2 separate regions of the Homo sapiens genome follow, and region 2 is linked to region 1. The links are contacts of gene promoters, found by promoter capture Hi-C in blood cells and fetal thymus (Javierre and others, 2016). All regions are on one chromosome and are shown on one strand. The core of a region is centred on a gene start or on the middle of the fragment in contact, and the rest is flanking DNA. Distances in the headings are between cores, read along the strand shown. Region 1 holds the start of PP12613 (a long non-coding RNA gene). Region 2 overlaps QRFPR (pyroglutamylated RFamide peptide receptor).

Region 1 (5,617 bases), core at 1,467-3,966:
CTTCACCACACAGCTACAACAGATGTAAATAACCTCAAGTGCATAGACAGCAGTGAAATGTAGTACTGAGGTTGGTGCAAAAGCAATCACGGTTTTTGCTTTTAATGACAAAAACCGTGATTGCCTTTTTACCAACCTAATAAAATAATTAGAAAGTGATGAGTTTGGAGTATTAATTACCTTTGTTGTTAACATAATTGTAGGTTTATATAATTTAACTTTTAATAATAGCTGGAATTTAAAAATTGGTTTACAAAATTTAACAATCAGCTCCTGTGAGTCATTACGAGCCAGCTCCAGCATACCACTGCCTATGAAGTGGATCAATATAATGTTATTGAGAGAGAGACAAAGAGAAAATGAAAGAAAGATTCTTCTCACTTATGCACTAAGATGCTTGATGGAGAGGCCTAGGGCCTGGAAATTTTGTACAATAGCTTGTAGCATTGGGGGCCCTTCGTAATAGAATAATAACAGTATCTGACATTTATATAGCAAAACACATTTTTATTTAACATTTTCTCATTTTTGAGCCTCACAACAAATCCAAGGGAAAGATAAGCAAGGCATGTTACAGATGAGGGGACTGAGAGTCACTGAGCAAAAGTGACCACTGACAGAGCTGACACTAGAATCGGGTCCATGAGACTTGCAGTTCACAGACTGTTTTCATACCACCCTGTCTCTTTGAACCCCTGTCATCCCTGGAGCAGCCACTTATTACAATCTGGGATGTTGTCAGCCCTCATCCCCAGAATTCAGTCCAGGAGGCAATTCTGCATCTTCACAAATAAAGAATAAAATAAAGTTAGGCCTACAAATGGGCAATGATAGCTGGCTGTATTAACAGCTGTCATAGCCGACTCTAAGATGAGCCCCAGTGATCCTTACTCCTTGGCGTTCGTGTCCTTGGACTCCTACCCTGAATAGGGCTGACCTGTGTGACCAGTAGGATATTACAGATCTGATGGCACGTGACTTCTGAAGCTGGCGGTAAAGAGCACTGCAGCCTCTGCTTTGTTTTCTTTCATCACTTGTTCTGGGGGAATCCCGCAGCTGTATTGGAAGCACCCATGGAAGGGAACTGAGGCCTCCCACCAACAACCAGCCCTACCTGGCAAGCAGTGAGTGAGCCACCCTGGAAGTGGATCCTCCACCTCTACACAAGCATTCAGCTGAAGGCAGACCTGGCTGACATCTGAACGGAGCCTCATGAGTAACCCGACACCAGAATCACCCAGCCAGTGCTCCCACATTTCGGACCCACAGAAACTGTGAGAGATGATCAATGTTTATGCTGTTTGAAGCCACTAAATTTGGGGGTAATTTGTTCTGCAGTAATAGATACACTGAACAGCTTTTAAAGCTGCGCGATATGGGCTTTGGGTCACGTCAACCAGATACAGAAAGGCTTTAGGGACTCAAGAAACACTTTGAGTAAACTTGTTTTCCTCTTTTCACCAAATAAACTGAATTTGAGGCCAATATTTGAAATCTTTGTGCTATATAACTTCTGAAATACATTGTATTCTTAATGCGTTTCCAAGTGACCTGTTGTCCATAGAAAAGTACACTCAACACTGAATGTATCTGCTACTCTGAAGAGCAAGACAGCTCGAACTGGAATTCACTCAGACACCTCATAGCACGAAATCATCTCATAGCCTTTCAGACCCCATCTTCACTGCCACCTTTCATTCTTTTGGGTCTCTGGGCCATGACATCCCCTGTCCTTTCGGAAAGCAGGAACGGAGGGATATAACGAAATAAATTAATTGGGAACGCAGCGGAGCTAGGGACCCTACTGGATGTTGGGGGTGGAACTTTTAAATCATTTACAAAACACCAGTCCCGACCTCCCCTGGAAGACTGAGCTGTTACCTCTTCTGGCGTCCGTGCCCGCGGAAGTTCGCTCCTAGGGAAGTCGCTCGCGTCCTCAAGAGCACCTGAGAGGATCTCGGCGAAGCGGAAGGCTTTGGTGCCAGCTGGGAGAGTCTGCGCCGGATTTCCTCAGCTCCTTGGCGCGTTTCCTCGGAGCCGGGGGAGGCAAAGCACGGACCCCGGAGTCGGCGCCCATAGCGGGACGCCCTCGCGAGGGGCGGGAGTGCGGGAGGTGGGTGTGCGGGCGGCGCGCTCGCCCTCCAGCTGCAGCCCGCGCCGAGCGCGCAGGGCCAGCGAGCGCCGGCGCCTCCAGCATGGAGTGGGAACTCAACTTGCTGCTCTACCTGGCGCTCTTCTTCTTCCTGCTCTTCTTACTTTTCCTCCTGCTCTTCGTGGTCATCAAGCAGCTGAAGAACTCCGTGGCCAACACGGCCGGGGCGCTCCAGCCCGGGCGCCTCTCGGTGCACCGCGAGCCTTGGGGCTTCTCCCGAGAGCAAGCGGTGTGACCCGAGTGCGGGCACTGGCGGGAGGGCACCGAGCTGCGCGGGCGCTGGGCTGGGTCTCCGCCTCGATTCTCCGTCCTCGCGGCCTCCCAGCTTCCAGGTGCGGGGCTCGGCGGCTCTGACGGGTCCGTTCCGGCGTGAGGCGCAGGGACCCGCGTCTCCGCTCCTGTGGGAGGCCCGGGGCTCGCAGCGCGTTCGGGTGCCAGGGACGGTGGGTGTATGGGGTCTGGGCTGGCGCTGTGCTCTTCGAGAGGGACCCTAAGCTGTTCCAGGGCTGGGAGAGATGGCGAAAAGAGAATTCGCCCTTTGGAGCCGGAATGACTTTGGACAACTGCAAGCTCTTTTCTGTCCAACTGCATTTTAGTTATACCCAAGGAGTGGAAAAGTAAATTATTCGGATAATGCAGTTTAGCCACTTTCGAACAAAATCGCAGGTTAACCTGAATATCCACATTTTTGAGAAAGACTGTGTGGGCTTTGGGACGGGTGGCAGGAGGAAACGGGGCGCACTTAAAGTATTTTAAATATTGCTTTAAATATTTTTGCGCTTTGAGAGATGGTAAATGGGGTTCGTCTGGTGGTGCTGGGGTGGGGCGTGGGGGAGAGAAGATTCAGTCGTCCATTTGGAGGGAGGAATCCCTTCCTCCCGGTGATCCTTACTCATATTCTAGCCACCAACCACGGTTAGTGCTTGCGGATTGCCGTGCAGGGTAGGTTTCGAATCTGGGACAGCGGATGGTGAACGTTACAGTGAGAGTCATTTGGAAGATGCCTTAGGGTTGGCCGGTACGTGACCTTTTGGGTGATGGCATGGAGGGCCAGCTAAAAGAGGTACTGTTTGCATAGTGTAGGGAAACAGGAAAAAGGACGGAGAGGCGGGTCTGTGGTTTCAGGTTAAATTACTAGAGCTTTTGCAGAAGATGGGCGGGCAGGAGCAAACTCGAGTACCAGTATGCCCTAAGTACCCTCTCGCTAATGTTAGTTTGGGAAATATCTTCATCCTTCAGTAGCTTTTCCCTAGATTTATGTCATCTCTCTTTCTAGAGCCGAGCTGCTGCCCTTGACTGGTGCTCAGGGGACCACAGCTGCAATGACAGTTTGGGCCTGCAAAAAGAAGGCTGGAACAACGGGAGATGGAAGCTTTCTGCAAATGGTAAGTTGGGATGACGCATGGTTTCACGTTGGCCTTAGTTATGACTAAACTTCTAAAGATCCAGGGCCTAAAAACATGTTGGTTCAGGATGGGGGAAATGGGTACAAGGAAGGAAAGGGCACTCTCCCACTCAAATCTGGTGAGCTTCTACCAGATCCACAAAGCCAAACTGACTCCTAACTCATTGCAAGAATCAGTGTCTTAGTAGAGGATTGTGGAAATTTGAATGAGATGTCAGGAGTGTTTGCACTTTTAATAATCATTCGGCCCTTTTGAAAAACAGTGCGGGGGTTCATGGGGTGAAATATGTGATGCAGATATACTCAATCTTCAGTAAGGGAAGATTTGGGTTTAGTCATGTCAGTGTGGGATAAGCTAAGTCATAACTATAGTATTGAAAATACTAATTTTAGACACAAAGACCATATAGAGAGGCTAAAAACAATGAAATACTAAAGTTTGCCTAAGTTGATAATATAAAAGTGAAGTGTAAGACAATTATTTTAATGCTTCAAAGGAAAAATAGTCTCAGGTGAATAATTTTGGCCCAAGACATTAGATAATTTCCCACTTTCTATTTCACTCTCCCCAAATAGGCCTGTTCTTAATGAAGTAAGAGGTTTACTTTAATTATTATGGTATGAGCAAATCCTCACCTCTTTATCAGAGTTATGGTAAGACTTGATTTGAATTCCCAGTTTGAACTCCCTGAATCAACTGCAGTGATTCTGTATTGTGCTTTGAACAATAGTTCTCTAATTGGTTGATATCTCTGCAGTGGCATTTAGTTAAAAGGTTGTATGGTTAATATGGACATTGAAGATGAGTGTGGGAGTAATTAATTAGCAATTATAGTTGTTTGTAAGGATTGAAAACAATCATTTCACACTTTAGAATAACCAGAATGGAAATTATTTTAACCACATGCTTGCCTTCTTGAGTTTACAATCCTTTAATCTTCCTAGCAGCACCACTGGTATCCATGAATTTAACCTGCCCATCATTCTTCCTAAACAAGAGACTATTGAAAAGTCAGGGTGAGTAGTTTATTACCATCTCAGTATTAATCCAATCTCTCAGCTGGTTCTACTGACTCAGGTTCCTAAGAAAGCAGGGGTGCCTTTCTATCTTGTATCCAGGGCCATTTTATTAACTCCTTGTAATCAAATTCATTAATGACCAAGTTCCCATTTATCCAGGCCACAATGAATATTTATTCCTATTACTCAACCTCTGCTTGGAACTTGACTCTAAGCTCTGGGAATTAAGGTAACTCACATTTGCTCTTAGATCTTGCTGCTGTTGATCTCCTGCCCTGCACTTGCTTTGTTAGAGACTCTGCTTTTGAAACTTTGACAGCTGTAGATGAGCTGTCTTTTGCTGTTTATTTATTTATTCAATCATCATTTTTCCAAGACCTGACATAGACTGATCTCTCAAATTAGAACTACTTTCAAACTCACAATTTTGGCCACCTTTATGCATTTTTGGCTTAGATCAAATACTCTGACACCCACAATGGTCTAGGTTGCAGGCTTCTACATGTTGGCTACTCCATCCCCTGACGATCCCCTGTTCTGACAATCACTATGTGCCAAATCTATTTTTAAAGACTGTATATATATGAGCTAGACATTAAAGCACTTGAAAAGTCAAGAACATTTAACATAACTGCTTATTATATAAATGTAACTTGATTATAGAAGATTCCTGTGTTTTATTTTCAATAAAAAGGTTTTTAGTGATTCTTCAGCAATGTTAGAAGGTGACTTGAATTTCTTACATTATAAGGAAATGAGCCATAATTCTATTATGTAATATTTGTATTTTATTTCAAATGTTATTATTTCATCATTGTTTCTAAATTTCAGGTGTTCAAAATGGCTTCAGATCTTATCAGGACAATCTTGGCTGTTGCACTAATTTCCAAACTTGTAAGTGCAATGGATCTGCAGTTCTACTTGGCAAGATAACCATTTTAAGTTGAATGAGAATGACATCACACTCACACCTGCAAAATCTAAAATGTCTAATAAAGTAGATTCCTATGTCTGAACTTCAATTTTAGGGCACAGCTGTA
Region 2 (5,617 bases), core at 2,308-4,807, 390 kb after region 1:
ATGGTAGTAGGCGAAGCTCCAAGCTTCATTATAACAGCTCCTGTCTCTCTTTTTAAGAATTAGAATTTTGCATGACTTTATATGAAAAATGAAAGGATTTAACTGGAAGGAAAGGAGGGAGAGAAAGAAAGCACTCACTGTACACAACATGAAATGTTAGGGTGTGTTTTTAGAGATTGAGAGCTGATACATTGTGAAATGAATTAAAGGAGGTTGTTGAACTTCATTTAGTGAAAAGATCTTAATTTTGAGGGCCAATTCAGAACAGAGAGCTTAACCTGGAACTTCTTCGGTCCCATTTTATTATTCAATCAGTGACTAGAAAACATCAGTTACATGTGTTATATAATTTTTTTCTATGATATTTCAGAAATTTTAGAGTTCTTGGGGAAATTTACATATGGTAAGATTGGTGTAAAATCAACAGTATTGTGGGGCTTAAAAAGTCAACAGAAATGATAAAAGCTATTGATGAAGAATAGTCTTTTTAAAATAAGGAAGTATTAAAAAAGATGTAAATTAAACAGAGGTCCAACAGCAACAGTAGTTTGGAAATAAAGTCAGGAATTATGCTGTGGACAGCCTCTGGTTGATCTTTCCTAGAATCAATTACGTGCACACTTTGAGAAGAAAAGATGCTGTAGGTCACTAAATTTTTTTGGTAGGTGAGAGAGTGGCAGTAACAGCAACAGCATTTATGTAAAAGATTCTCTCTACTTAGGACAAGAACAGTTTACATTTAAAATAATGACAAGGATTTAGCAGTAAGAAAGTTTTAAATATTTCACTGTGCACTTAGGAGGCATAAAATGAATTCCCTTTTAGTTTGCTTTTCTAAAACATAACTATTCTTTGATAAGTTGTTGATTTATTAGGATTCTTGTTTGTGGGAAGAGAAGCCCAACTTAAATTACCTTAAGAAAAAAAAGGGAATATTCTACCTCTGCAACTGAAAAGGTCAGAGTTAGGGCTGGTTTTAGGCATAACTGGATTAAGGTCTTCAACAGTGATCATCCTCCCCCTCGGCGGCCAGCTCCACTTCCCTCTGTGTTGTGGTTTCATTCTAGAGCTGTCTTTTGCCCAAGTGTGAAAGATGACCCCAGGAGCTATAAGCTTACATTTTCTTTAAAACTCCCTGTCTCAAACCAAGTGTCCATCGATGGACAAATGGATATACAAAATATGCTGTGTATACACACAGTGGAATATCACTCAGGCATGAAAGGGAATGAAGTTCTGATACTTACTACAACATGGATGAACTTTGAAAGCATTATGCTCAGTTAAATAAGCCAGACACAAGAGGACAAATGTTGTGTGATTCTACTTACATGAACTATTTAGAATAAGCAAAGTCATAGAGACAGAAAAGGTACTAATGTTACCAGGGGCTATGGGGAGGGCAGAGTGGGGAGTTATTGCTTAATGCTTAGATTTCTGTTTGGGGTTATGAAAAAGTTTTTGAAACAGATAGTGGTGTTCATTGCACGACACTGTGAATGTGATTAATGCCACTGAATCATACACTTAAAAATGGCTAAAATCATAAATTTTATGTTAGATATATTCTACCACAATAAAAAATTCTAGAACAAAAAATAAAACTTTTTATCTCAGGAAATGAGAGAGAATACTTCCCGGTAGTTGCAGAAAATTCTGGAAGGATTCTAGCCAGTTTGGCCTTGCTGTCTTACCCATAGAACTAATCACGCACCTCAGGGAGCGCCATCGTCACTCCTATTCAAACACCCAGAGATACCCCCTACAGCAGGAAGAAAAGCCTATTGAGGAGCCACTGTGAGGCAGTTTCTTATCCCTGTCTTGTGGGAGACTGACCTTCTCTTATCTATCTCCCGTTTGGTTTCCGTTGAGTGTAAGACTTCCCTCCTTTCTCCCCACCTTGCTCCCACTTAAGGTTCAGCTACAGTCTTTTGTGTAAGTCTGTACAATTTCTTGGCCGTGGTTTAAGGGTTGCTCCTCCCCAGCAGGGCAACCCATTGCCCATACTGTCAGTCATCTTGCTCTTCAAGGCTCAGTGTCTTCCTGTGTTGATCTTGCCTTTGGCATCTGTGCAAGTAATAAACTTCCTGAATCCATTGATGCTCATTGTCTCCTTACTAACTGAATCAATGGAAGTGTGACAAGCTAACAACTGTAGTAGTGACACTTGGGACCCTGTTAGCCACTAAGCCCCTTGGAAAGGCTTGACTGCTTAGCATGAAGTTCTTCCATAGGAAGGTACTCAGGGTAGATATGTTTAGCAGAGTTGGCCATTTATGTCTAGTGGAGTGAGTCAACTTACAGGGACTAAAGCTCCCCGATCATATGTCTTCCCATAAGGCCAAGCCCTGCACTAGGTTTCTCAGGACCAAGCTGAACCAGAGTTCTGAGTGGCTCTTCCTTGTCTGCCTTTCCTGGTCTGGGATGGAGTGCTGGGATCTCCCTCTGCTGCTCCCATCTCATTTATTGATATATACTCCCCAGTGGACCAACTTCCAGGCTGCCAATTCCTTCTAGTAGTGGACATATGCCTTCTCCCTCTGCTAAGGAATTATTGAAAGGTCAGTGAACGGGGTTCTAGAAGTTGATATTGGCAGTTCCCTCTCAGTCTGTGCCTTTAAGAAAAATTCAGCAGAAGCTATACTATTTGTTTCATTTTATGCCTTAAAACTAAAGATTCTTAAGGATGAATTCCGAAGTAATTAAGTAAGTGCTTATTGTTTTTATCTGTCTTTGCAAAACTAAATTAGTCCTACCTGTAGCTTGGTTTTGGAGAAACACATTTACTGTCATATCAGAGAGATTGTAGGCTATTCAGGGTAATAGAAATCTTAAAAGACAGCATGTTCCTACATCCTGGGAGAAATAGAAGGATAGAGAAACAGTTAGATGCTGTGAAAACAAACATGGATTGTGGAATCAAACAATATTGGGTTCTAATCCTGTTCCATCCTTTATTAGTGTTTGTATTAACTAGATTATAAGTTACATGGCCTGGCATTAAAGCTTCCCCTATTAGAAGACCAAGGAGAGAAGTTATAAAATAATGTTTGATGCTGCCCCCCAGTGGTTGATGTGGTGGCAGAAAATATGACAAAGATACAGGTTTTAGATCAAGCTTTATTTTCACAAAAATATTAATGCATATAATGCATATCTAGTTCTTCTTACTTCCCATTTGATTTCTCTATGAAGCATATAGTATTTACATATTTTCATTTATGCAATCTCATTTTAAAGTCCCCTTTAATACATGTATGAAAATATGTTAACGTTTTAAAAAAATTTCCTGTGGGATTGAGATGCATTTAAAATCTGTAAACGTCGGGTAGTGTTGCCTAGTGAGTCCTGGAGACCTTTGAAGTCACTGCCACTCTCACCATGGCTTGGGTCCAGATGCGCCACAGCCTCTTGGGGATGTAGGCCCTTGGAATCTTTTTAGTGCCGGACTCCCGGCCACAGGCAGTCCCGCGGCAGCAGGATAGCAGAACCTCTGGATGGACTCTTCCTGGGAAGTTTTGCTAATTTGCAGCAGCTGGACCATGTTCCTCATTAACATCCATCTGTCAGCTTAGTCGTCACATCATTTCACCGTGGTGGCAGGGATTCTATATAGAAAAAACACCTGGATCTCAGCCTTTCAATGGCTTCAAGACAACCAGAAGTGCCTGCTCTTGAGGCTAGTGGGCCTCTAGGCAAGATGTCCCTGCCCTTCAGGATATACCGCCGGGCACTCAGCTATGATGATACCCTCAAGGACCCTGCACCCATGACTCCTCCTCCATCAGACATGGGCAGCATCCCTTGGAAGCCAGTGATTTCAGAGCACAAGTATCAGCACCTCACCAAGGTGGAGGAAGGAGAGGCCAGTCTACCCTCCCCTGCCAGTCCCTGTCATCGGCCATTGACAGTGTGGACAAGCTCCCAGTGGTGAAGGCTAAAGCTACCCATGTCGTCATGAATTATGTGATCACAAAACAGACCCAGGAAAGCTTTCAGCATTTTGGGCAACAGGCAGGGCTGAGAGATCCTGGCTACACACCCACAAGGGTGTCACCACTCAGAAGACCAAGTACCTTAGAGTAGCAGAAGCACTCCACAAACTAAAGCTGCAGAGTGGAGAGATAACAAAAGAAGAGAGGCCACCTGCATCAGCCCTGTCCACCCCAAGCACCACTTCTCACTTTTCACCTAAGCAGAGACCCAGGGGCTGGTTCACTTCTGGTTCTTCCACAGCCTTACCTGGCCCAAATCCTAGCACCATGGACTCTGGAAGTGGGGATAAGGACAGAAACTTGTCAGATAAGTGGGGCCTCTTTGGACTGAGATCCCTTCAGAAGTATGATTCTGGAAGTTTTGCCACCCAGGCCTACCGAGGAGCCCAGAAGCCCTCTCCAATGGAACTGATCCGTGCCCAGGCCAACCGAATGGCTGAAGATCCAGCAGCCTTGAAGCCACCCAAGATGGACTTCCCAGTGACGGAAGGGAGGAAACAGCCACCACGGGCACATAATCTCAAACCCCGTGACTTGAATGTGCTCACACCCACTGGCTTCTAGAGCCCTTTCTTTCCAGGGATTCTGGTAAAGAAGGTTTCTTGCACTCCACTGCCCTTTTATCTTGGCTTTGACATAGGAAAGGTATATTTAAAAACTTAATCAGCTGGGCACAGTGGCTCACGCCTGTAATCCCAACACTTTGGGAGGCCAAGTTAGGTGGATCACCTGAGGTCAGGAGTTAAAGACCAGCCTGGCCAACACAATGAAACCCTGTCTCTACTAAAAATACAAAAATTAGCCGGGCATGGTGGTGGGTGCCTATAGTCCCAGCTACTTGGGAGGCTGAGGCAGGAGAATTGCCTGAACCCAAGAGGCAGAGGTTGCAGTGAGCCGAGATCACGCCATTACACTCCAGCCTGGGCGACAGAGTGAGACTCCGTCTCTAAATAAATAAATAAATAAAGTAAAAAACCTGTTAAATTGAGGCTAGAGCTGGAGATACAATTGGTTTTTGAGAAATATTGATACAAAGCTTGCCCCTGTTGTGTGGAAGAAGCCATTTTGTACTGCTTTAAAGTTAGACTAAATATTCTCAGCAGTGGTGTATGGGGACCTCATTACCTATTTTTTCATCATTTACCCTAGGTAAGAACTTCAATCACTGCTTACTAGGTAAAGAATGTTTGTGCTGTTCCAAAACCCAGGCTTCTTGATTCCTTACCACTATCCATGTGAGCATTGACAAATCATGGCGTAGAGGTGCTCACTGACTGGCTGAGACGACTCTGGCCCTGTTGATGGCTGGTGCTGTGCTCCAGCCTTATCAGTAAGGGGACCCAAGATTTGTTTGGGACCTGGGTATAGGTAAAACCAGACTTGGCAGGGACCCCTGTTTCTAGGCTGAACCTTGAGTCCCCCTGCTTTTTGGTAGACCTAATGGATCACTGTCCTGCAACCAGTTCTTCATGTGGGGCCTCTTAGGCCAGTGCCAGGGGAGGCATGCTTCTCTTTCTATGCCACAGAACAAACACTAGTCTAGCAGAGCCTTTCTTGCACTTTAAAGTGAGATTAATTTAGCTGCAATTTGGTTAAAAGCTTCCTAAGAGAGAAAATTCAGT

The links. The method cuts DNA at HindIII sites, captures the fragments that hold promoters and counts their contacts. A CHiCAGO score of 5 or more calls a contact.
Region 2: a fragment that was not itself captured here is called in contact with the fragment with the promoter of PP12613 in region 1 in 4 of 17 cell types (M1 macrophages, M2 macrophages, endothelial precursors and 1 more); the score reaches 8.2 in M1 macrophages.

What each region holds. Positions count from the first base shown.
Region 1 is chr4:121,761,684-121,767,300 of GRCh38, reverse strand. PP12613 (a long non-coding RNA gene) reads right to left here and starts at 2,716. Exons shown (of 1, transcript NR_024365.1): 1 at 493-2,716. SMIM43 (small integral membrane protein 43) reads left to right here and starts at 2,137. Exons shown (of 6, transcript NM_001384332.1): 1 at 2,137-2,484; 2 at 3,429-3,537; 3 at 4,503-4,574; 4 at 5,409-5,471; 5 at 5,606-5,617. The coding sequence starts at 2,196. The coding sequence ends at 2,387. The HindIII fragment of the contact is 5,910 bases long and covers 1-3,526 here.
Region 2 is chr4:121,368,372-121,373,988 of GRCh38, reverse strand. The region is part of intron 1 of QRFPR (pyroglutamylated RFamide peptide receptor); the gene reads left to right. It also overlaps the pseudogene KIAA1191P1. Among named protein-coding and RNA genes, the nearest start is that of QRFPR, 9.8 kb to the left of the region's middle. The HindIII fragment of the contact is 874 bases long and covers 3,121-3,994 here.